Regions from separate parts of the Homo sapiens genome. Here regions 1, 2, 3, 5, 6 and 7 are each linked to region 4. Evidence: promoter capture Hi-C in 16 types of primary human blood cells and fetal thymus (Javierre and others, 2016). All regions are on one chromosome and are shown on one strand. Each heading gives the region's core, a stretch centred on a gene start or on the middle of the fragment in contact. The rest is flanking DNA. Distances are from core to core; before and after follow the strand shown. Region 1 overlaps ZNF524 (zinc finger protein 524). Region 2 holds the start of KMT5C (lysine methyltransferase 5C). Region 3 holds the start of MIR6805 (microRNA 6805). Region 4 holds the start of LENG1 (leukocyte receptor cluster member 1). Region 5 holds the start of ZNF580 (zinc finger protein 580). Region 6 overlaps ZNF784 (zinc finger protein 784). Region 7 overlaps PPP6R1 (protein phosphatase 6 regulatory subunit 1).

What was found. The method cuts DNA at HindIII sites, captures the fragments that hold promoters and counts their contacts. A CHiCAGO score of 5 or more calls a contact.
Region 1: a contact is called between a fragment that was not itself captured here and the fragment with the promoter of LENG1 in region 4, in 7 of 17 cell types (activated CD4 T cells, non-activated CD4 T cells, naive CD4 T cells and 4 more). The highest score is 10.4, in activated CD4 T cells.
Region 2: a contact is called between the fragment with the promoter of KMT5C here and the fragment with the promoter of LENG1 in region 4, in 10 of 17 cell types (fetal thymus, naive CD4 T cells, activated CD4 T cells and 7 more). The highest score is 17.3, in fetal thymus.
Region 3: a fragment that was not itself captured here is called in contact with the fragment with the promoter of LENG1 in region 4 in 1 of 17 cell types (fetal thymus); the score reaches 5.8 in fetal thymus.
Region 5: a contact is called between the fragment with the promoter of ZNF580 here and the fragment with the promoter of LENG1 in region 4, in 5 of 17 cell types (activated CD4 T cells, non-activated CD4 T cells, fetal thymus and 2 more). The highest score is 12.5, in activated CD4 T cells.
Region 6: a fragment that was not itself captured here is called in contact with the fragment with the promoter of LENG1 in region 4 in 1 of 17 cell types (fetal thymus); the score reaches 5.1 in fetal thymus.
Region 7: a contact is called between a fragment that was not itself captured here and the fragment with the promoter of LENG1 in region 4, in 1 of 17 cell types (fetal thymus). The highest score is 6.8, in fetal thymus.

What each region holds. Positions count from the first base shown.
Region 1 is chr19:55,601,819-55,604,518 of GRCh38, forward strand. It overlaps ZNF524 (zinc finger protein 524), which reads left to right. Exons shown (of 2, transcript NM_153219.4): 2 at 257-1,320. The coding sequence starts at 295. The coding sequence ends at 1,089. Among named protein-coding and RNA genes, the nearest start is that of ZNF865, 2.5 kb to the right of the region's middle. RefSeq lists enhancers at 797-1,347, 2,451-2,700. The HindIII fragment of the contact is 3,453 bases long and covers 1-2,700 here.
Region 2 is chr19:55,338,509-55,341,232 of GRCh38, forward strand. It overlaps KMT5C (lysine methyltransferase 5C), which reads left to right and starts at 1,368. Exons shown (of 9, transcript NM_032701.4): 1 at 1,368-1,449. RefSeq lists enhancers at 1-286, 287-1,060, 1,370-1,439 and a silencer at 1,460-1,519. The HindIII fragment of the contact is 2,060 bases long and covers 865-2,724 here.
Region 3 is chr19:55,386,854-55,389,553 of GRCh38, forward strand. It overlaps RPL28 (ribosomal protein L28), which reads left to right. Exons shown (of 5, transcript NM_000991.5): 4 at 1,077-1,195; 5 at 1,390-2,700. The coding sequence ends at 1,479. MIR6805 (microRNA 6805) reads left to right here and starts at 1,328; the gene lies at 1,328-1,389. The HindIII fragment of the contact is 1,611 bases long and covers 606-2,216 here.
Region 4 is chr19:54,158,308-54,161,013 of GRCh38, forward strand. LENG1 (leukocyte receptor cluster member 1) reads right to left here and starts at 1,414. Exons shown (of 4, transcript NM_024316.3): 1 at 1,257-1,414; 2 at 1-154. The coding sequence starts at 1,388. It overlaps TMC4 (transmembrane channel like 4), which reads right to left. Exons shown (of 15, transcript NM_144686.4): 13 at 2,571-2,706; 14 at 2,160-2,238; 15 at 1,801-2,067. The coding sequence ends at 1,999. RefSeq lists an enhancer at 747-1,416. The HindIII fragment of the contact is 1,716 bases long and covers 993-2,706 here.
Region 5 is chr19:55,639,729-55,642,428 of GRCh38, forward strand. ZNF580 (zinc finger protein 580) reads left to right here and starts at 1,274. Exons shown (of 2, transcript NM_207115.2): 1 at 1,274-1,455. It overlaps LOC107983998 (a long non-coding RNA gene), which reads left to right. Exons shown (of 2, transcript NR_171683.1): 2 at 398-1,071. It also overlaps a transcript of ZNF581 not described here. RefSeq lists a silencer at 1,124-1,643. The HindIII fragment of the contact is 9,119 bases long and covers 1-2,700 here.
Region 6 is chr19:55,620,576-55,623,275 of GRCh38, forward strand. It overlaps ZNF784 (zinc finger protein 784), which reads right to left. Exons shown (of 2, transcript NM_203374.2): 2 at 166-2,069. The coding sequence ends at 1,176. Among named protein-coding and RNA genes, the nearest start is that of ZNF784, 2.6 kb to the right of the region's middle. The HindIII fragment of the contact is 1,720 bases long and covers 423-2,142 here.
Region 7 is chr19:55,251,621-55,254,515 of GRCh38, forward strand. All of the region lies in intron 1 of PPP6R1 (protein phosphatase 6 regulatory subunit 1), which reads right to left. Among named protein-coding and RNA genes, the nearest start is that of PPP6R1, 5.9 kb to the right of the region's middle. RefSeq lists enhancers at 1-105, 1,998-2,077, 2,308-2,527, 2,538-2,647. The HindIII fragment of the contact is 4,391 bases long and covers 1-2,895 here.

The DNA of each region.
Region 1 (2,700 bases), core at 27-2,526, 1.4 Mb after region 4:
TCTTGAACTTCTAGATCCAGAAGGAGAGTTAGGGAGGCATAGGGATGTCTGGTGGAGCTCAGGGAAGTGCCTGTTTATCAGCTGATACAAGATCATCTCACTGTTTTACCCACCAGCATAGCTAAAATTGTGTATCTGGATGAATGTCAAACACACCTTTGTCAAGAGACTTGGAGAGAGGGATGGGCGAGGTGTTGGGGGACACAGGGGTGCTCTAGACCCTGTGAGCACTGACTCTGCCCCTCTCTCCTCTTAGCTGGCTCCAGTGCCCAGACCCAAGCCCCCCACTGCTCAATGGACACCCCCAGCCCAGACCCGTTGCCTTCGCCTTTGCCCGGGGAGGAAGAGAAACCTCTGGCCTTATCTCCTCCTGTTCCCCGGGGCCGCCGAGGCCGTCGTCCTGGGGGAGCCACCTCCTCAAATCGGACACTCAAGGCCTCCCTCCCTCGCAAGCGGGGCCGCCCCCCCAAGTCAGGGCAGGAGCCCCCACTGGTGCAGGTGCAGGGGGTGACAGCCCCAGTAGGCAGCAGTGGCGGGAGCGACCTCCTCCTGATCGATGATCAGGGTGTGCCCTATACGGTCTCTGAAGGTTCAGCGGCTGGGCCTGAGGGCTCTGGCCCCAGGAAGGCCCCACACTTCTGCCCGGTGTGCCTGCGGGCCTTCCCCTACCTCTCCGACCTGGAGCGCCACAGCATCTCGCACTCAGAGCTGAAGCCGCACCAGTGCAAGGTTTGCGGCAAGACCTTCAAGCGCTCCAGCCACCTGCGGCGGCACTGCAACATCCATGCCGGCCTGCGGCCCTTCCGCTGCCCGCTGTGCCCCCGCCGCTTCCGCGAGGCGGGCGAGCTGGCGCACCACCACCGCGTGCACTCGGGGGAGCGCCCGTACCAGTGCCCCATCTGCCGGCTGCGCTTTACAGAGGCCAACACGCTCCGGCGCCATGCGAAGCGCAAGCACCCGGAGGCCATGGGGGTACCCCTGTGTGCACCAGATCCAGGGTCTGAACCGCCGTGGGACGAGGAGGGCATCCCGGCCACAGCAGGGGCCGAGGAGGAGGAGGAGACAGAGGGGAAAGGGGAGCCGGCCTGACCCACACCCCCGGCCATCGCTCCCTGGGCCAGGTTTAGAGCAGGGAGTTTGGCTGGTGCTGGGCCTGAGCCAGGGGGCCGGGACACCCTTGTTTCCGGTGGTCTTCCCGTTGTGGGAGCAGGTGGAGGGTGGAGACCTAAACTTTGGGGTCCAGCTGCCTTCAGCCCCCCTCCCCCAGACTAACAGACCCTTGGAGGCAGGGGCTGTGGAAATAAATCTCTGCCTGCTGGCTGCCTGTGTGTGTTCCGTGCCGGGATGCCATCCTCTCCTGCCTTCAAATGTTCTTCCTCGGCTACACCGTCCTGTCGGGAGTGCGGGGAATTGGAGAGGACCCCACTTCCTGTGCCTCATGAGCGTGGTGCTCGCCAAAGAATGGTTTTGGGGGGAACCTTGGCCCCTTCCCCATCTCCATCAGACCCCAAAGTCCATGGGTCCCTCGGAGTCCGCGGGGAATTGGTTCCACGAACCTCGCAGATACCAAGATCTGGGCATACACAAGTCCAGCAGTGGGCCCTGCGGAACCCGCGGATGTAGGAAAATCCGCCCTTCGTATACTGTATGTTCCACCGGTGTTTGGGTGAAAAAACGTCCGCCTCTCAATGGACCTGCAGTTCAAACCCCTGTTGTTCAAGGGTCAGCTGTATTCCCAGTACACATCCAATCTAACTAAAAACATTGAACCTTCCATGCAGACCTGACTGTAGGTCCGACCGCCTCTCTCCTAGCCAATTCCCAGAAATTCTGCAGCCACTTTGCCCCACCTCCTTGTCCTGAGGACCTACTGTTTGGAAGGAAAAATTAAGACAAAGGTATGAGCAGGACGGTCTGGGTAAGGTTTAGAGATAAGGGGTGTGGATTGGGGCGGGGCTAAGGAGCGAGGGGTGGGGCTGAGATTGCGGGGCAGTTAGGCTGGGACCTGGGGCGGGGGCTTAGAAGAGGGTTAGAGTTGGGTGGGGCTTAAAGAGGTTTAGGGGTTGGTCCGCAGAAAGTGAGAGCGGTTTAAAGAGGATGGATAGAGTTGATCTAATAGAGAGTAGGGGCTTGGAGCTGGGGAAGAACAGGAGGAACTGCGTGAGAGTGGGGCAAGGAGGACGGATAATTTTTTTTTTGAGACAGGGTCTCGCTCTGTCATCCAGGCTGGAGTGCAGTGGCCCTATCACCGCTCACTGCAGCCTCGACCTGCCAGGCTCAAGCGACCCTCCTGCTTCAGCCTCCGGAGTAGCTGAGACTACAGACGGGCGCCAGCATATTTAGCTAATTTTTTTTTTTTGAGACGGAGTCTTGCTGTCGTCCAGGCTGGAGTGCAGTGGGGCAATCTGGCTCACTGCAACCTCTGCCTCCCGGGTTCAAGCAGTTCTCTCCCTCAGCCTCCCGAGTAGCTGGAATTACAGGCGCCCGCCACCACGCCTGGCTAATTTTTGTAATTTTAGTAGAGACGGGGTTTCACCATCTTGGCCAGGCTGGTCTTGACCTCCTGACCTCGTGATCCACCCGCCTCGGCCTCCCAAAGTGCTGGGATTACAGGCGTGAGCCACCGCGTCCAGCCTAATTTTTGTATTTTTTTTTTTTGTAGAGACGGGGTTTTGCCATATTGCCCAGGCTGGTCTTGAA
Region 2 (2,724 bases), core at 118-2,617, 1.2 Mb after region 4:
TCTCTCTCTCTCTCTCTCTCTCTCTCTCTCTCTCTCTCTCTCTCACACACACACACACACACACACACACACACACCAAAACACCAAAAACAGCACACCAAAACAGCACCTACTCTGTGGCATGCATTGTTTTAAGTGCCCACGATCTATAGCTGTACAGTGGAGCGCATGTCTGACAGTGATCCTATATGTGTAGACACACAAGCGCCTACATTGTGTTACCGGACAGTAACATGCTGCACAGCTGTGTGGCCCAGGAGCCGCCGGCCACCTTACAGCCCAGGTGCCAGCAGCCCTGCCACGTAGGTGTGAGTGATGTTGCTCTAGGATGCTGGCAGGATGACGACATCGCCTGAGCACGCACTGCCCAGATGGTATCAGTGTCGTTAAGGGAAGAATGGCTGTGGCGAAACAAACAAACAAGCAAACAAAGACCGCCTGTTCTGAGTGTGGAGCTTATTATTCTCGGCGTAATTATGATGAATTGTTAGTTACGTTTGCCTCTAGGATTGAGGTAGGGGGGGTGATCCCAATTAGGGGGTGCCCCAGGGGAGCGCCCCAGGAGTCAGGGCTTGTCTCAAAAGTCCCCACTCCTCCCTCAGCCTCCCCTCCCTCCATCCGACCCCGTTCATATCGCGGGAAGGTCCCACAGAGTGCGTGTGGATACTCCCAAAACGCAACGGTGTAAACGGGGAGGGAGGGAGAGAGACTGAGGAGCCCTTTGTAGCCAGGCAGAGCTGTCAATAAAGTTTCGTCGCCTTGGTAACCGCAGGCCTCGCGGGGCGGGAGGGGAGAGGGATGGCGGTGCGCGCGCATTCACCGCCTCCCTCCCGCCGGGTCTGGCTTTCTCCCTCCTGTGGCCGAAGCTTTCCTCGGAGAAATAGAAGAGGGAGGCCGCGACTCTATGGTGATGGACGGAGGCCTTACCCAATGGAAAGAGGAGCTGTCCCAAGGCCAGGCAATCATATACGACTACTGGAGCTGGCAGAGCCCGCCCTCTTTCCACTTGGACCTGAATAACCCGACCCAAACCGAGTTTCGCCCGGAGAGACTGCGCTTTCGGCCAATGAGTGCGTCGATTTCGAGCCCCAGTGTGAGCGAAGGCGGGACAAGTCTCCATGGCAGCGACTAAAGGACAGCGATGTGAACCACTGACAACAGTTCGCGGCGTTTGACGGCGGCGGGGGCGTGGCGGGGTTTTATCTGTGTATTGACGAGAGCCGGGCGCGGAGGGAAAGAGTGGGGCTTGGCCAATGGGAGCGCCGTGAGCTTCGTAGCAACGGAGGAGTGGCGGTGGCTGTGGCCAATAGAAAGCCTCAGTGGCCTTGGCGGGGCTGGCCCGGAGAGCAGATGGGAGGTGCGGCGACAGTGTTTGACGAGAGCCGAAGGAGGCTGTGGGAGGTGTTGGCGGCGGCGGCGCGGGCGCCTGAGGAGGAGGAGGAGAAGCGGGTGAGGGGCGGCGCGGGGCCCGATCTCTGAGCCCCTTCACGGCCCCAGCCCCGCGCCGCCTTGGCTCCCCAGTCGCCCCCTGCCCCGACTGCCCCCCACCCCGCCCGGCCCCTCCTCGTGTCCAGGCGCCCACGTCTCCCGGCCCCTCGCCGGGCCTCGGGCTCCGCGGCACTGCAGCCTCCTTCCTGTGCTTCCTCACCCGGGCCCTGACCCCCTTCTTACGTCCACGGCCCTCCCTGCATCCTCAGGGCCTCTCCCTGACCTCTTGTCACTCTCCAGGCCTCTCCCTGCACCCCCCAGGGCCTTTCCCTGACCTCACCCTCCAGGCCTCTCCCTGCACCCCCAGGTCTCTCCCTGCACCCTCAGGGCCTCTCCCTGACCCTTCTCTCACCCCCGGGACCTCCCTGCACTCCCAGGGCCAATCCCCGACCTCCTCTCACCCTCCAGGCCTCCTTCTGGACCCTCTAGGTCTTTCTGTGCCCTAGAACCTCTCCCTGACCCCTCTGTCCCTCTCCTGGCACTCCCTGGACCCTGAGGTCGGCCTCTGACCCTCCAGGTCCCTTGCCCTGGGCTCTCACCGCCTACCCAGGCGCCTCCCTGGGTCCCCAGGCCCTTCCCTAGGGTCTCCCTTTCCTGGATCCCCCAGGACCCCACCAAGCCCGTTTGGATCCCTGGGCCCCTGTCCGCCCTCTCAGGCCCTTCACTCACTGGACACCCAGGATCTTCTCCGCCATCCCTGGACCGCCCCCCGACCCAGGTCTCCCGTCTGGCTCCTCCCTGAGTCCCTAGGCCATTCCCCGCTCTCTGTCCTCCCTGGCACCCCCATCCCTTCCTCACACCCCTCTGAGCGCCCCCAGGCCCGGCTGCAGCCTTCTCCCTCCCACAGCCCCCTGCCGTGCCCACCGCTGTGCGTTTCTCTCCTTGCCCCCAGCCCCCTCTCCAGCTTCCCCGCTGTCCCTGGCGTCCTCCTGCAGCGCCCCCTCTTTCTCTCCCGCAGCCTCGCAGTCTGTCCCCGACCCCTCCACAGCCGTCTCTGCAGCTCCCGCTCCTTGCCCTGCCCCATCTCCTCCTCTCCTGGGCGCGGATGAGCCTCGAGCGCCGTGGTGCGGGGACGAGGCTGGCCCTCCGTCCGGGTTAGGGGTTTGGGTGGTTTTCTTCATCTCTCCGTTCTCTCCTGGCTCCGCTTTAAAAAAATGTTTTTGTAAATATTGACCTGTGCTGCCTCCCCATAGTCTTCCTTTGCTCCCCTCCCCACCCCCGCTTTTGTCCTCTGAG
Region 3 (2,700 bases), core at 161-2,660, 1.2 Mb after region 4:
TCAGCTCTGTGAGCCGCGCGCGTCTGAGCCCGTGTCCTCACCTGTAAAGTGGAGAAATGAAAAAGGACCTGAACTTCCTCGGTGGTTGTTGAGAGTTAAGGCACGGGGTTGATGTTTTCAGATGAAATTCTCAAAGCAAGTCAGGGTGGGGATGGATGGTTTCATCCCACAGGTGGGAAGATTGAGGCACAACAGGGGAGGGGCCCTCGCTACCACACTTAGGAGGGGACAGGCTGGGTTGGTTGCAGCCATTTGATTCCCATTTTGCCTGTGTAGGTTAGAGAAGAGGTCTTGGGGACCCCACTCCATACATTGTGCTGTCAGGTGCAGGCCTTTTTGGGGATTCCCTGAATGTTCGTGTGAGTCGGGGGTCTCTAATGGAGGAGTCCAGCTTCACATGTGTTCTTGACAGGGCTGTATTTTCTTTTTAGAGTGAGTTTTTCTCAGGTCCTTGATTGGAACTGCCTCAGAGCCAAGGGTCCTTTTACTCAGTGGCAGCAACAAACGCAGTCTGTTGGCTAGTGATCCTCCTGTCTCAGGGACACGTAGTCCAGGGAGCAGCCAATTGCTTGGCACTTGGGGACCCCGTTCTGGGGAGTCCTGAAAGCTTTCACCTCTTGGATTGCCGAATACATGGGTGGCCCTTCCTAGACTAAGGGACTGGCCTGAGTGAGGCTGGGCCTCTCAGCCAAGCTGATGTTGAACCACTGCTGTGGGGATGGGCCTGGGGTTCCTGGGAAGCTGTTCATACCCATTGCCAGGAGCGTGGGCTCTGGCTGGACCTGGATCAGATCCTAACTGAAGCGGCAGCTTTCTGGCATGAGAAAGGAGTGTTTTCATGGTGGACAGAATTGGGCTATGAGTGTGGCAGAAGCTGTGTCCTCAGTACTCCGTGATGACGAGTGAGCCTCTGTGAAATGGACAGGTGGGAAAACAGCTACCTGCTGGCCTGCCCAGGCACCCGCCACGGGCCCACGCTGCTCAGCTTCTCAATGTGAGACTGTCCACACCTGCGAGGTGTGCTAAAGGTGCAGGTTAGGTGGACTGACCCCAGGACCTCCCTGACCCCCAACCAGGCCAGCGGAAGCCTGCCACCTCCTATGTGCGGACCACCATCAACAAGAATGCTCGCGCCACGCTCAGCAGCATCAGACACATGATCCGCAAGAACAAGTACCGCCCCGACCTGCGCATGGTGAGCTGGGGTTTGGGGATCAGGCTTGGGGAGACTGGCCAGTGCTGTGGGGAAGGGCCTCCCACTACTGGTTGCAATATGGGCTGGAGAGGGATGGATTCTTGCTTTCAGCCTACTCCCCACACCCAGCATTGGCCTAGGGGGCGGCTTGTGGAGTGTATGGGCTGAGCCTTGCTCTGCTCCCCCGCCCCCAGGCAGCCATCCGCAGGGCCAGCGCCATCCTGCGCAGCCAGAAGCCTGTGATGGTGAAGAGGAAGCGGACCCGCCCCACCAAGAGCTCCTGAGCCCCCTGCCCCCAGAGCAATAAAGTCAGCTGGCTTTCTCACCTGCCTCGACTGGGCCTCCCTTTTTGAAACGCTCTGGGGAGCTCTGGCCCTGTGTGTTGTCATTCAGGCCATGTCATCAAAACTCTGCATGTCACCTTGTCCATCTGGAGGTGATGTCAATGGCTGGCCATGCAGGAGGGGTGGGGTAGCTGCCTTGTCCCTGGTGAGGGCAAGGGTCACTGTCTTCACAGAAAAAGTTTGCTGACTTGTGATTGAGACCTACTGTCCCATTGTGAGGTGGCCTGAAGAATCCCAGCTGGGGCAGTGGCTTCCATTCAGAAGAAGAAAGGCCTTTTCTAGCCCAGAAGGGTGCAGGCTGAGGGCTGGGCCCTGGGCCCTGGTGCTGTAGCACGGTTTGGGGACTTGGGGTGTTCCCAAGACCTGGGGGACGACAGACATCACGGGAGGAAGATGAGATGACTTTTGCATCCAGGGAGTGGGTGCAGCCACATTTGGAGGGGATGGGCTTTACTTGATGCAACCTCATCTCTGAGATGGGCAACTTGGTGGGTGGTGGCTTATAACTGTAAGGGAGATGGCAGCCCCAGGGTACAGCCAGCAGGCATTGAGCAGCCTTAGCATTGTCCCCCTACTCCCGTCCTCCAGGTGTCCCCATCCCTCCCCTGTCTCTTTGAGCTGGCTCTTGTCACTTAGGTCTCATCTCAGTGGCCGCTCCTGGGCCACCCTGTCACCCAAGCTTTCCTGATTGCCCAGCCCTCTTGTTTCCTTTGGCCTGTTTGCTCCCTAGTGTTTATTACAGCTTGTGAGGCCAGGAGTTTGAGACCATCCTAGGCAACATAATGAGACACCGTCTCTAAAATAAAATTAGCTGGGTGTGGTGGTGCACCGCCTGTGGTCCCAGCTCCTCAGAGGTTGAGTAGAGGCTGAGGTGAGCGGAGCACTTGAGCCAAGAGTATGAGGCTGCAGTGAGCCCATGAGCCCCACCACTACACTCCAGCCTGGAAGACACCATGACACACAGTGAGGCCTGGATGGGGAAAGAGTCCTGCTGTTGATCCTCACATGTTTCCTGGGCACCTAACTCTGTCAGCCACTGCCAGGGACCAAGGATCCAGCATCCATGGCACCCCTGGTTCCTGCCATCCTGGGGTACCCGATTCAAAGAAGGACTCTGCTCCCTGTCTGAGACCACCCCCGGCTCTGACTGAGAGTAAGGGG
Region 4 (2,706 bases), core at 164-2,663:
ACTCTTTATTGCCTCTGATCACTCCTTTCCCTTCCTCCAGCAGCTCCCGAAACAGGTCCACAGGGCCAGAACCTGGGGCTCCCGCCTCTGCTGCTTCAAGCTCAGGCAGTGAGTTCTGATGTCTGGCTTTCTTCCGTAGGAATTCTGTACGGGCCTGGGGAGAAAGTTATAGGCAGGACATTCAGAACCTAGAGGTAATTCAAGAACTGTGAGTCTGGTGCCCACCACAGAAAATGGCAGTCCAGGGTGCTGGGGTTATGAGAAAGGGAGCACTAGGCGCCTAAAAGAGGCACCTGTCCTAGCTGGGGGTGAGGGTAGGCAGATGAGGCAACGCCTGGGTTTTGTAAACTCCCTTTCAAATAGTAAACCACGGGTCATCAAGGATGTATGGGAGGAGGTCCCTGGCCTAAACCAAAGGGGTTCCTAACCTCAAGTGAGACAATTAAAACAGCCATAAAGGTATGCATTAGGCCAGACGATCTGAATTCTAGCCATGGCTCCAAGTGACTACCCCAAGTCTGCTGAAGCCCTGTCCCCTGCCTTCAGGACGCGGATTTCAAACAGCGCTCAGCAGCCTACTGAGATTCTAAAAACCTAGACTACCTCCCACCCACGGCGGAGGATCAGACTAGCTAAGGAAATGAAAGTTGGGTGTACACCAAACAGATTTAAAGAGCCATACGGAAAGCCCGTGTTTGTGTGTATGTGTCTAGGGGGCGGTGCACGAAAGGGCTCGCCCGATGGCGTGGAGCCTGGCTGTCCGCCTCTCCTTAAAATGTGCCTTCCCCTCACTGAAGCCATCTCACTTCGTGCAACAGAGATGACAGTGCCCCTCTAAGAACGAACAGTGCTTATTGGGGATTCCGCAAGTCAGGTGCACGGCATGTAGTTAGCATACAGTAGATGCTCAATAAATAGGCTGTGCAGGCAAACTAAAAAGTGATCCGAATTTCCTTGAACTGTCCAAGGGTTCACGGATTCATTAAATGTTAAGCTTCTCTTTTGTGCTAGACACTGTTCCAGCCATGTGAAATACATCAGTGGGGGAAAAACTAAGACGAGGGCGAGATCAAGGAAGGTTTCGTGGAAGTGGGCACAAGGTTTGCGGGGCAACGTCCTCGAAAGTGGGATCGGCGCCTGGTCCCGAATTTCACACGGGGCACATTGAGCCTGCGCAACGCCTCCGCTTCCGGCCCCCAACCGCGGCGCCTGCGCGCTGGGCCCCGGAGCGCCGCCCTGCCGGCTTCCGAGCTTACCTCTTGCTGAGCCAGCAGCACCCTCCGCTCACGCTCCTTCTCCTCCTCCCGGGCCTGGGCCTCGTCACGCCGCACGCGGGCGACATTGTCCTTGTTCCGGACGTGCCAGCTCTTCTTGGGCAAGATATTCATGGCGTCGTAGCTGTCCAGGGACTGGCACGCCCGCCTCTTTGCACTTCCGATTGGCGAGAGGATGCCCCCCTTTTTCTTGTCCCTACTTCGACCGCGGATTGGTTCCGAATTAGTTGGTACGGCCCCCTGGCCTGTAGCGACAGGTGATTGGCTGAGACGCCCTTTATCACAGCGAATGCTAGGCGTTCGGCTCGTGGTATCCCCTAGCAACCGCCTCTTGTCACAGATCTGAACCAATCATAAGTTGGCCCGCCCCTGATGCTACCAGATGCGGCCGTCGATTGGCCGACATGACCGACAAGTCTCCTTGCGGAAGAGCGCTCTGCACCGACAAACATGCCCGTACATTTGATTGGCTCCTGCCCCGCTGTAGCCCTGCCCCCACCTTCAGGACGCAGATTTCAAAGCGCGCTCAGCAACCTCGGCTGTATTTATTGATACAAGGAAGATCACCCGAGAGTCAGGGACGTGGCGGCGAGGGGCCCTGGAAATCTCCAGATACCAAAGCTGGAAGGGCGTGGAGTCTTCTCCAGTTCTCCTAGTTTACAGATGTTGTGACCTAGGCTTACAATGGGCCTGGGGTCTGAAAGCGGGACGTGGGCTGCGGGGGTCAAAGAGCCGGTTTGGTGGAGGTCAGCGCCACAGCGCGCCGTGCCAGGAAGACTTTATTCTGCGCCTCCTGGGGCAAAGAGAGGTGGAGGTGAGACAATCCTCTTCCCCAACCCCTTTCCATGTTCCCCAGGGGCCCTCTCAGGGACCCGCCTGGCTCACCGTCTCTCTCTGACGTTTGAGCTCAGAGATGAGGCGTCCGTAGGAGTTAGCCAGAGCCACAGTGTACGCCATCAGGATGCTGAAGGAGACAGGAACGGAAGCCACTCCTGACACGCTCTTCCATTATATCCAAACGTCTGGCTCCTTCGAAGCCAGGGATGTGGACGCCTAAGCCCCTCCTCGTCTGGGCTCAAGGAGTTCAGTCTCCCAGCCCCTCCGCCTTCAGATCCAGGAGTCCTACGTCCCGCCCACCTCCTCCTTCGGACCCAGCAGTCCAGGAGCCTAGGCCTCCTCCCTCAGACTCAGTACGTTGCCTGCTCCCACGCCCAAGCCTCTCCTCTCTTGGACGCAGGTGGTGGCCCCCAGATCACACGCATTCAAACCCAGACCCAGAAGTCTGGGCCGTCTCACCTGGAGATCAGCAGAAGGGGCACAGCAAAAGCCTGGGTCCCCAGGAAGAAGAGGAAATTCTGGGTGGTCTCAGGGAGGCTGGAAATAGACTCAGGGATCTGGGCCCAGATGGACGACTGCCCCCGGAATGGACCAC
Region 5 (2,700 bases), core at 24-2,523, 1.5 Mb after region 4:
GCCTCAGCCTCCCAAGTAGCTGGGACTGTAGGGGAGCACCACTACGGCCGGCTAATTTTTGTACTTTTAGTAGAGAAGGAGTTTCACCATGTTGGCCAGGCTGGTCTCGAACTCCTGACCTCAGGTGATCCGCCCGCCTTGGCCTCCGAAAGTGCTGGGGTTACAGGTGTGAGCCACCGTGCTGATTATGGGAAATGTAATACAATTTAAAATTCAGGTCCTCTGATACACCAGCCACATTTCAAGAGTGTAAGAGTCCCACGTGGCTAGTGACTGTCATAGAACTTTCCACCATTGCAGAAAGTTCTGATGGACAGTGCTCTAGGATGTAGCTGTGGCACCCCAGGGTCTTGGGGCTCGCTGTGACAGTTACTCCTCTTCTGTCCCCCACTCTCAGCTGCACCTGCAGATGCTGCTGCTGCCGCCCTCCTGCGAGGCCGTGGCGCCACGTGGCTGGAGGAGGAGCTGCAGCTGCCCCGAGTGCTGCCGCGTGTGCAGCTCTCCAGTGCGGCTGCAGCGCCACCGCGCGTTGCTTTCGACGCCGGAGTCCTTCGCATGCGCAGCCAGCGCCCGGGCCTCAAGTGCCCCAGGACCTGGCGCAGCCCGCGAGCCCGCATCAGGCTTCCAGTGGGCCCCGTGGGCAGTGCCAGCCTTTCCCACCTCCGCATCTGGCAAAGCCTGGCCTTCGCTGCGCTTCGGTGTCGCCACATGCCTTCTGGAAATATCACACCTCCCCACCTGCGCATGCAGCCGTCTGGCCCTCTGTGGGCCTCGGTTCCCGCATGTGCCCCGTGGAAAGAACATACCTTCCCCAACTATCTGGCAGCGTCTGGCCTTCTCCGGGCCTCGGCCTCCCCATTTGCTGGGTGGAGAATCACGGCCCGGCCACATCGGAGCCAATGGCTGGTCTCTGGACCTCGGTCTCCACATTTGCTCAGCCGGCAGGAACATCCCTTCTCCCGCCCTCTACCTCGGTGGGTGGCCACGGCCGAGCAGGCAGCGACGGCCCAGTGGAAAGAGGACAAACCCTTGTGGGCCTTAGGGCGAAGACGTAACTTTGCTTAGTCTCGGTTTATTGGCCGATCTCTTGTCAAGCGGCGGAATCGTTCCGTTCGGGAGGTGGGAGGGGAGCGGGGCCGCCGGGGGCGGGCGTCTTCAGTGGACCCCACGCCTCCGGTCCCCTCCCCGCAGGGCGCTCCGCAGAGGCGAGGGGTGGGAGCGCCGGCTCCAGGCGGCGGAACCTCCGCACTGGGCTCGCGCGCTTCCGGCCGGCGCCTTTTCCCAGGGACTCCGCCAACCCCTCGCACCCCCGCGCCCCCAGTCCCCGCGTCCCCGGCGCCGCCGGCCCGGAGCTGCCCGGAAGTCTCGGTTCCGCCGCCGGCGCTCGCCAGGGGAAGCCCGGGGCCGCCCGGGACCTCGGCCCGTTCCTCCGGACCCGAGAGGCCGCCGCACGGGGTACGGGGGCCGGGATGGAGGGAGGAGCCTGGCCCTGGGACGACGCCGGGGCCAGGCAGGCTGGGGGAGTGCGCTGGAGCCACCCGGGATGGGGGTGGGGGTCGGGAGCGGCAGGATCGGGCGGAGGGACGGGAGGGGAAGTCGAGGCGCCAGGGCTCCTTGGGGAAGTGAAGGCAATAGGAGGGGCCCCAGGGCCAGGGGACAGGCGGTGTGTAGCGGGATGGGGGCGAAAACGCCCGGGCGCTGGGGTTCCCATAAACAAGGGGAGCAGAGCAAAAGAACGGGCGGGGGACCACGCTGTGTGTAACAGGGAGAGGGATGGGGCTCCTGGAAGAGGTGAACACGAGGAGAAAGAGAGATGCCAGACGTACACAGAAAGGAGGGGAAAGTGGGCTTGGGAGAGGTGCTGTGGGAAGCGGAGTCCCGGAGCCTGGTGTGCATAACGGGGTTTGGGAGAAGGCCCCTGATGGGTACAGAAAGAAGTAACGATGTCACCGCCATATATGGGGGGCGAGAGAAAAGGGGGCCTTTGGGGAGAATGTAGCAGGTAGCCAGGTTGGGGGGGCGGGGTATACAGAAGGAAGGCATTTGAGCCATTTTGGGGTGTATAGATGTAGTAAGACGATGGGTTCCGTAGTGGGGAGAGGTGACTAGACTTCGAGGTGCTAAGTGTAGGAACAGGATGGAAAAGCCCTAGTGAAATGTGGGGAATTGGGTTAGTGGGGCTCTGGGGAGGTACCTAGAGAGGAAGTGAGGGAGGCCACGGAATATGAAGATGGGGAGGCCCTGCGGCATGTAGTGGGGACGGAGGGCCAGGAGGCCGATACGGGGGCCGGTGGGGGGGTAGGGGGCGGCAAAGGGAGGGGAAGTAAACTGAACTGGGGCTGGGCAACAGGAAAAAAGAAGAAACCACAGATTAGAGAAATCTCGGCGGTCAGGAGGCCCGGGGTCTAAGATGTAAAGAGGTAAACAGATTTAGGGATTGATTGTCTGCTGGGGTGGGTTGAGAGGAGAAAAGGGAAGAAAAGTCGGGGGACTACGTCCTCAGACCTGACCTGAGTGGTGAGAGGTGGACCCAGGAGGAGTGGCAGGTGGTGGCGGGGTTTTGCAGAGCTCAGTTGGAGGCCCTCTCCGAGGCAGCTTGATGGAACGTGGGAGAGCCGGGCTGGAGTCACAGTTTTTATTTTGCTAGGGAGGTAGTCAGTGGCGCACAAAGGGTAACAAGCAGTGATAGTGGGGATGCTT
Region 6 (2,700 bases), core at 33-2,532, 1.5 Mb after region 4:
ACACGTAACCACAGTGGGGCCTACTCACCCCCCATTCTGATGATGGGGAAACAGAAGCTTGGAGGAAGAGATGATGCAACTGACTGCTGGTGGCAAAACCATGGTGAGGCCCCTCCTCCCCCAACTCCCCAAAGCGGACAATCCGAATACAAGACCGACAGAGAAGCCCTTCAGAAGGTCCTTTAATAGGAACAGAACTGAAGGTGTCACACCTCCAGCTCCCAAGTCCTCCTCTCGCCCCCACCACAGTGACTCTTTCACTCCACACCCAGGCCAGCCCACCATGCTGCCATCAGCCAGCCCGCCCTTGGGATTGGCGGGGACTAGGCAGTAAGCTGTTTGCTTCGAACTGGGAGTGGAGGAAATTAGAGAAACCTGAGGCTACCTTGAGGCTTGTGGGGGACCCTGGGCTCTGAGTCTAAAGCTTTAGGAGGGGGATGCTAGGTAGCTGCTTGCTTTATGTGTTCTCAGTTGCCTCCGAAGAAGAGTGGATGGGTTAAGGACGGACCACAATGGGGGTGGGGGTTGCCGCTGTTGGAGTCAAGATCCTATGGTCAGGCTTACATCCTTGAGGCTCAAGTGCTCTCAGCGGTGACTTGGGGACCCTCTGGCTTTGAGGTGATGGGATCCCAGAGTCTCTTCACAGATAACCTGGTGAGTGTCTTCTGCCAGAGGGTGGATAGGCATCCCAGGTCCAGTGCAATGCAGTGAGGTAGGCAGGAGACTCCATCCTGGTCCACCCGTGGAGGACCAGAGCAGAAGACTATGGTGGACCCCAATTCCCCCCTTCCATTCGATCCTGGCTCCTCCTCTGAAGTGCCCAGGCTCTGTCGTGACAGGCTGGGTCTTGCACAAGGACAAGCCAACCAAGAGACAGTCGGGGAAGTGACATCCAGCCCGTGGGCCTTGCCTTTGGCCGCACACCCGCAGAGCTGCAAGAGCTGCACCTGTCCTCTCCTAGGCCTGGCAGAGGTGCTGTGTGGGCGTGTGGGAGTCTGGAGCCTGGCCCTCTCCCTCTGCTCTCCATCACTAGCGGCTCACAACCATCCCTGCAGCTGTCATCTCTCCCCCAATCTCCCCTCTTCTGTCCCCTGCCTCCGTTTCCCCACCCCGTCCCCCTCCCCGGGTCGGCCTCGTACCTCCGCCTTAACTAACCCATGTCCCTGGTCTGCAGCCTACTGGTCGGCCTCCACCTTCACCTTCGCGGTCTCCCCCCGCCCCTCCTCCGCAGGGTCCCCTACCCCACACCCGCTCCCCGACCCCTCAGCCGCCGACGAGCCCAGCTGGCCTCCAGAGTCTCCCAGCCCCGGCCCCGGCCCGTGGAAGTGGGTGCGCTGGTGCTTGCGGAAGTTGGAGGAGTTGTTGAAGGTGCGGTCGCAGAGCGTGCAGCGGAACGGGCGCTCGCCAGTGTGGATGCGGGCGTGGCCGCTAAGCACCGAGGACTGGGTGAAGCCCTTGCCGCAGATGCCGCAATGGTATGGCCGCTCGCCAGTGTGCACGCGCTCGTGGTCTCGCATGTCTGAGGAGCGGCGGAAGGGCTTGGCGCAGAACCTGCAGGCAAAAGGCTTCCCCACCGCTGCGCCCGCCGCCGCCGCCGCCATCACCACCTCCGCCCTCTCCGGGGCCACCCCGGGCCTCTGTTCTGCAACGGCCGCTGTGTCCGGAGGCCTCCGAGAGGTGCCCGGCTCCACCCCGTGCCGGTGCTGGTGCCGGAGCAGGGGCGCCAAGGCCTTGAAGGCGCGGGGGCAGAGCGCGCAGCGGTAGGGCCGCTCCCCCGTGTGCAAGCTGTAGTGCGCGCGCAGGCTGGCGGGGCCCGGGCAGCTGTGGCCGCACACGTGGCACCGGCTCGGGTCCCCACCCTGCCCGCCTCCCTCGGCCCCAGCCAAGTGGCCATGTTCGTGGAACAGCAGCTCGGAAACCAGCCGGAAGGCAGCAGGGCACAAGGCACAGTGGAAAGAACCTGGCTCCGGGGGCTCAGGGACCAGCGTGGTGTCCGTCACCTTCACCACCTGGATCTCGATGAGGTCACTCGGGGGTGTGCCAGGCCGGCAGTCATCAGGCACCAGGACCTGGGCAAGAGGAGAAGAAAGAGGAGCCTGTGGAACCTGCCTCAGGACCGCCCCAGCACGCCCCAATTATTAAAGCTTGGGCTCCTCTGTTATTTTCAGACAGGGCCTCACTCTGTTGCCCTGGCGCGATCGTGGCTCATTGCAACCTTGACCTCCTGGGCTCAAGCGATCCTCCCACTTCATCTCCCTGAGTAGCTGGGATTACAGGCATGCACCACCACATCCAGCTAGTTAAAAAAAAATTATTTCTGGCTGGGCACGGTGGCTCAGGCCTGTAATACCAGCACATTGGGAGGCTGAGGTAGGCAGATCACCTGAGGTCAGGAGTTCGAAACCAGCCTGGCCAACATGGCAAATACCGTTTCTACTAAAAATGCAAAAATTAGCCAGGTGTTGTGGCTGCTGCCTGTAATCCCAGCTACTCGGGAGACTAAGACACGAGAATCGCTTGAACCCAGGAGGTGGAGGTTGCAGTGAGATGTGATCATGCCACTGCCCTCCAGCTCAGGCGACAGAACAAGACTCCATCTTAGACAGCAAAACAAACAAAAATTATTATTATTATTTTTAATGTAGAGGGAGTCCCACTATGTTGCCCAGGCTGGTCTCCAACTACTGGGCTCAAGAGATC
Region 7 (2,895 bases), core at 331-2,830, 1.1 Mb after region 4:
CACAGTGGTAACTCCCCACCTCCCCACTTCTGCCCAGATGCTAGACCTCCTCAAGGGACCATCCCCTACTTCCCAGCCCGCTTGACAAGGAATGCGACAGGCCGACCACCAAGTGTCCATGTCACAGATGAGAAAACTCAGGCTCAGCAAAGGTGACTCACCAGCGTGCTGAGGGAAGCGGGAGGGGGAATGGATTTCCTGATCTGGGTGTACCTGGGACCAGAATAATCTCAAGGGGCAACCGCCAAATTTATCATGACTCTGCCAATTTCCGGCCTAAGGCTGTGGCGAGCAAAGCACCGAGACGTGGCAAGCACACACACACAGCCTCTTTCTCCGTGGGAGACCAAGCAGGCTGATAGGCTGCCCATGCCATGCCAGCAAAGCCAGTCCCAAGGAACCACACACTGCAGGCCTCCAACTATGTGAAGCATCCAGAACAGGCAAATCCATAGAGACAGAAAAGAGCTTACAGGCTTCCAGGAGCTGGCGGGGATTGGGCGAAGTTCCTGAAAGGAAAGGGTGATTAAAAAAAAGTTCCAAAATCAATTGTGGTGATGTTTCCACAACGTTGTGAATACACTAAGAACCACTGAATTGTACCCTTTATTTATTATTTTTTTTCTTGAGACAGAGTCTCTCTCTGTCACCCAGCCTGGAGTGCAGTGGCGCGATCTCGGCTCACCGCAACCTCCAGCTCCTGGGTTCAAGCATATCTCCTGCCTCAGCCTCCCGAGTAGTGGGGACTACAGGTGCGCACCACCATTCTTGGCTGATTTTTTTTTTTTTTTTTTTTGAGACAGAGTTTCGCTCTGTCACCCAGGCTGGAGTGCAGCGGCGCGATCTCGGCTCACTGCAATCTCCGCCTCCCGGTTTTAAGCAATTCTCCCACCTCAGCCTGAGTACCTGGGATTACAGGAGTGCGCCACCACACCCAGCTAATTTTTGTGTGTGTTTTTTTAGTAAAGACGGGGTTTCACCATATTGGCCAGGCTGGTCTCGAACTACTGACCTTGTGATCCGCCTGCCTGGGCCTCCCAAAGCACTGGGATTACAGGCATGAATCACCACGCCCGGCCTAATTTTTGCATTTTTTTAGTACAGACGGGGTTTCACCACGTTGGCCAGGCTGGTCTTGAATGCCTGACCTCAAGTGATCTGCCTGCCTCGGCCTCCCAAAGTGCTGGGCTTACAGGCGTGAGCCACTGCGCCTGGCTGTACACTCTAAATGGATGAACTGTACAGAATATCTCAATAAAAACTGTTGGGGGAAAAAAAAAAACCTGCCTCAGGCCATCGGCCATGGCAGGGACAGAGCCAGGGCCAGGCTCAGGCCTTGCACTATGTCCCAGCGTCCGCAGAGCTGATGAGATGCCGGCCAGCCTGGCAGAGCTGAAGCTGCCAAGGCTCAGCCCTGGGGCACTCACCCAGGTTACCCCTTCCCCATCCCTCACCACCAACAGCTCTAAGCTAAGTGAGCCCCTCCACAGTGGGGACGGGATAGGAGCAGCACCAAGCCAGCATCTGTAGAAAATCCATGGACCCGCACTTGCAGAGACACTTGTCTCGGCTCCACATCAAGACCAAGTAAAGAATTCTTATTATTCCGACAGAGTCTCATGTGGAAGAGGGGCCCAGAGGGGTGGAGCCACATGGCTAGCAAGAGGCTTCCAGTGTGCCCTGGTCTCTAAACAACAGGCAGAAATTCTCACACTGAGGCCCACCGTTCACTTCTAAGATACCTGATTAAAGGGCACAGGCATGGCCCTCGGCCCCCAAACCCCCTACCCCTGGTACAGACTAACCATCTGCTTCGGGGAAAAGGTCAGGCTTCCCCTCCAAACCGAGCTCCCCAGACAACTGGGGCAGGGGCAGCCAGAATGAGACGGGAGGGTGCTCGCTGGTGCACGGCATCCAAGAACTTCGGCCCTGAGAACCCAGGCAGCGCCCTGAACTCTCCATCTCAAGTGGCTCCTCTGAAAATCAGAATAGACTGAAAGGCTCAAATGCAATTGAGTGGTCGACACTCTACAGACCTCAATTATCAGGCTCTAAACAGAATGAAGATGCAAATATGGAAGAACAGAAAAAAAGAGAAAAAAACTTTCCCCCACCACAACCTCTGAATGCACTATGGCCTGAAGCCCTCTCAGTCCCCTCTCCCAACCTAATGAAGCCTGCTAGAATCCCTGCGAATGGAGCAGGAGAGTGGGTTTCACTCGCACTCTCCTGGTGAACCTGGGCAGGCGCTTGATTTCTCTGAGTCTCATTTCCTCATCCGTGAAAAGGAGACACAGCCCACCAGGGCGGGCTGCTGTGAAAAGGCATTGAGCTAAAGCAGGTGGCCGTGACACAGCAGGAGCTCAGCAGGTGCAAGTCTCTTCCGGTCCAACCCTGAGGCCACGTCCAGATGCTTTCTGGCAGGACAGGTAGGGGACCGGTCACTACCCCAAAGGTGATGGTGCTAAACACAGAGGAGCAGGAGAAAGACTCTACCCATTTGCCTAAGTGACTCAAGTACTTTTCCTCAGACCATTCGGATACTACGGCAGGCGCCATGCACCCCGCCACCCCCATTCTTTGCAACTTTTAGCAACTTCAAGAAAGCGGAAGTGACTACCACTAGTTTTTAGCTACCGTTTGAAAACCATGAGTCTGGCTGCAAACGGAAGAAGGGGAAATTGTAAATGAGAAAGGAAGCCATTAAAAACGAAAACTACCTCTGCCGCTCTCCCTCCACCAGCTCTGCACTATTGCCTCTGGTTTCTGACTTAGCTGTGGTGTTTTAGGGCCTTCAACACCAGCCACCCCTCAAGGGCCTGCCAGCCCCTTCCTTCCCCTGCTTGGACAGGCACTAACTGCGGCTCCCACAGAGCCATCCCCACTGCTGCACGT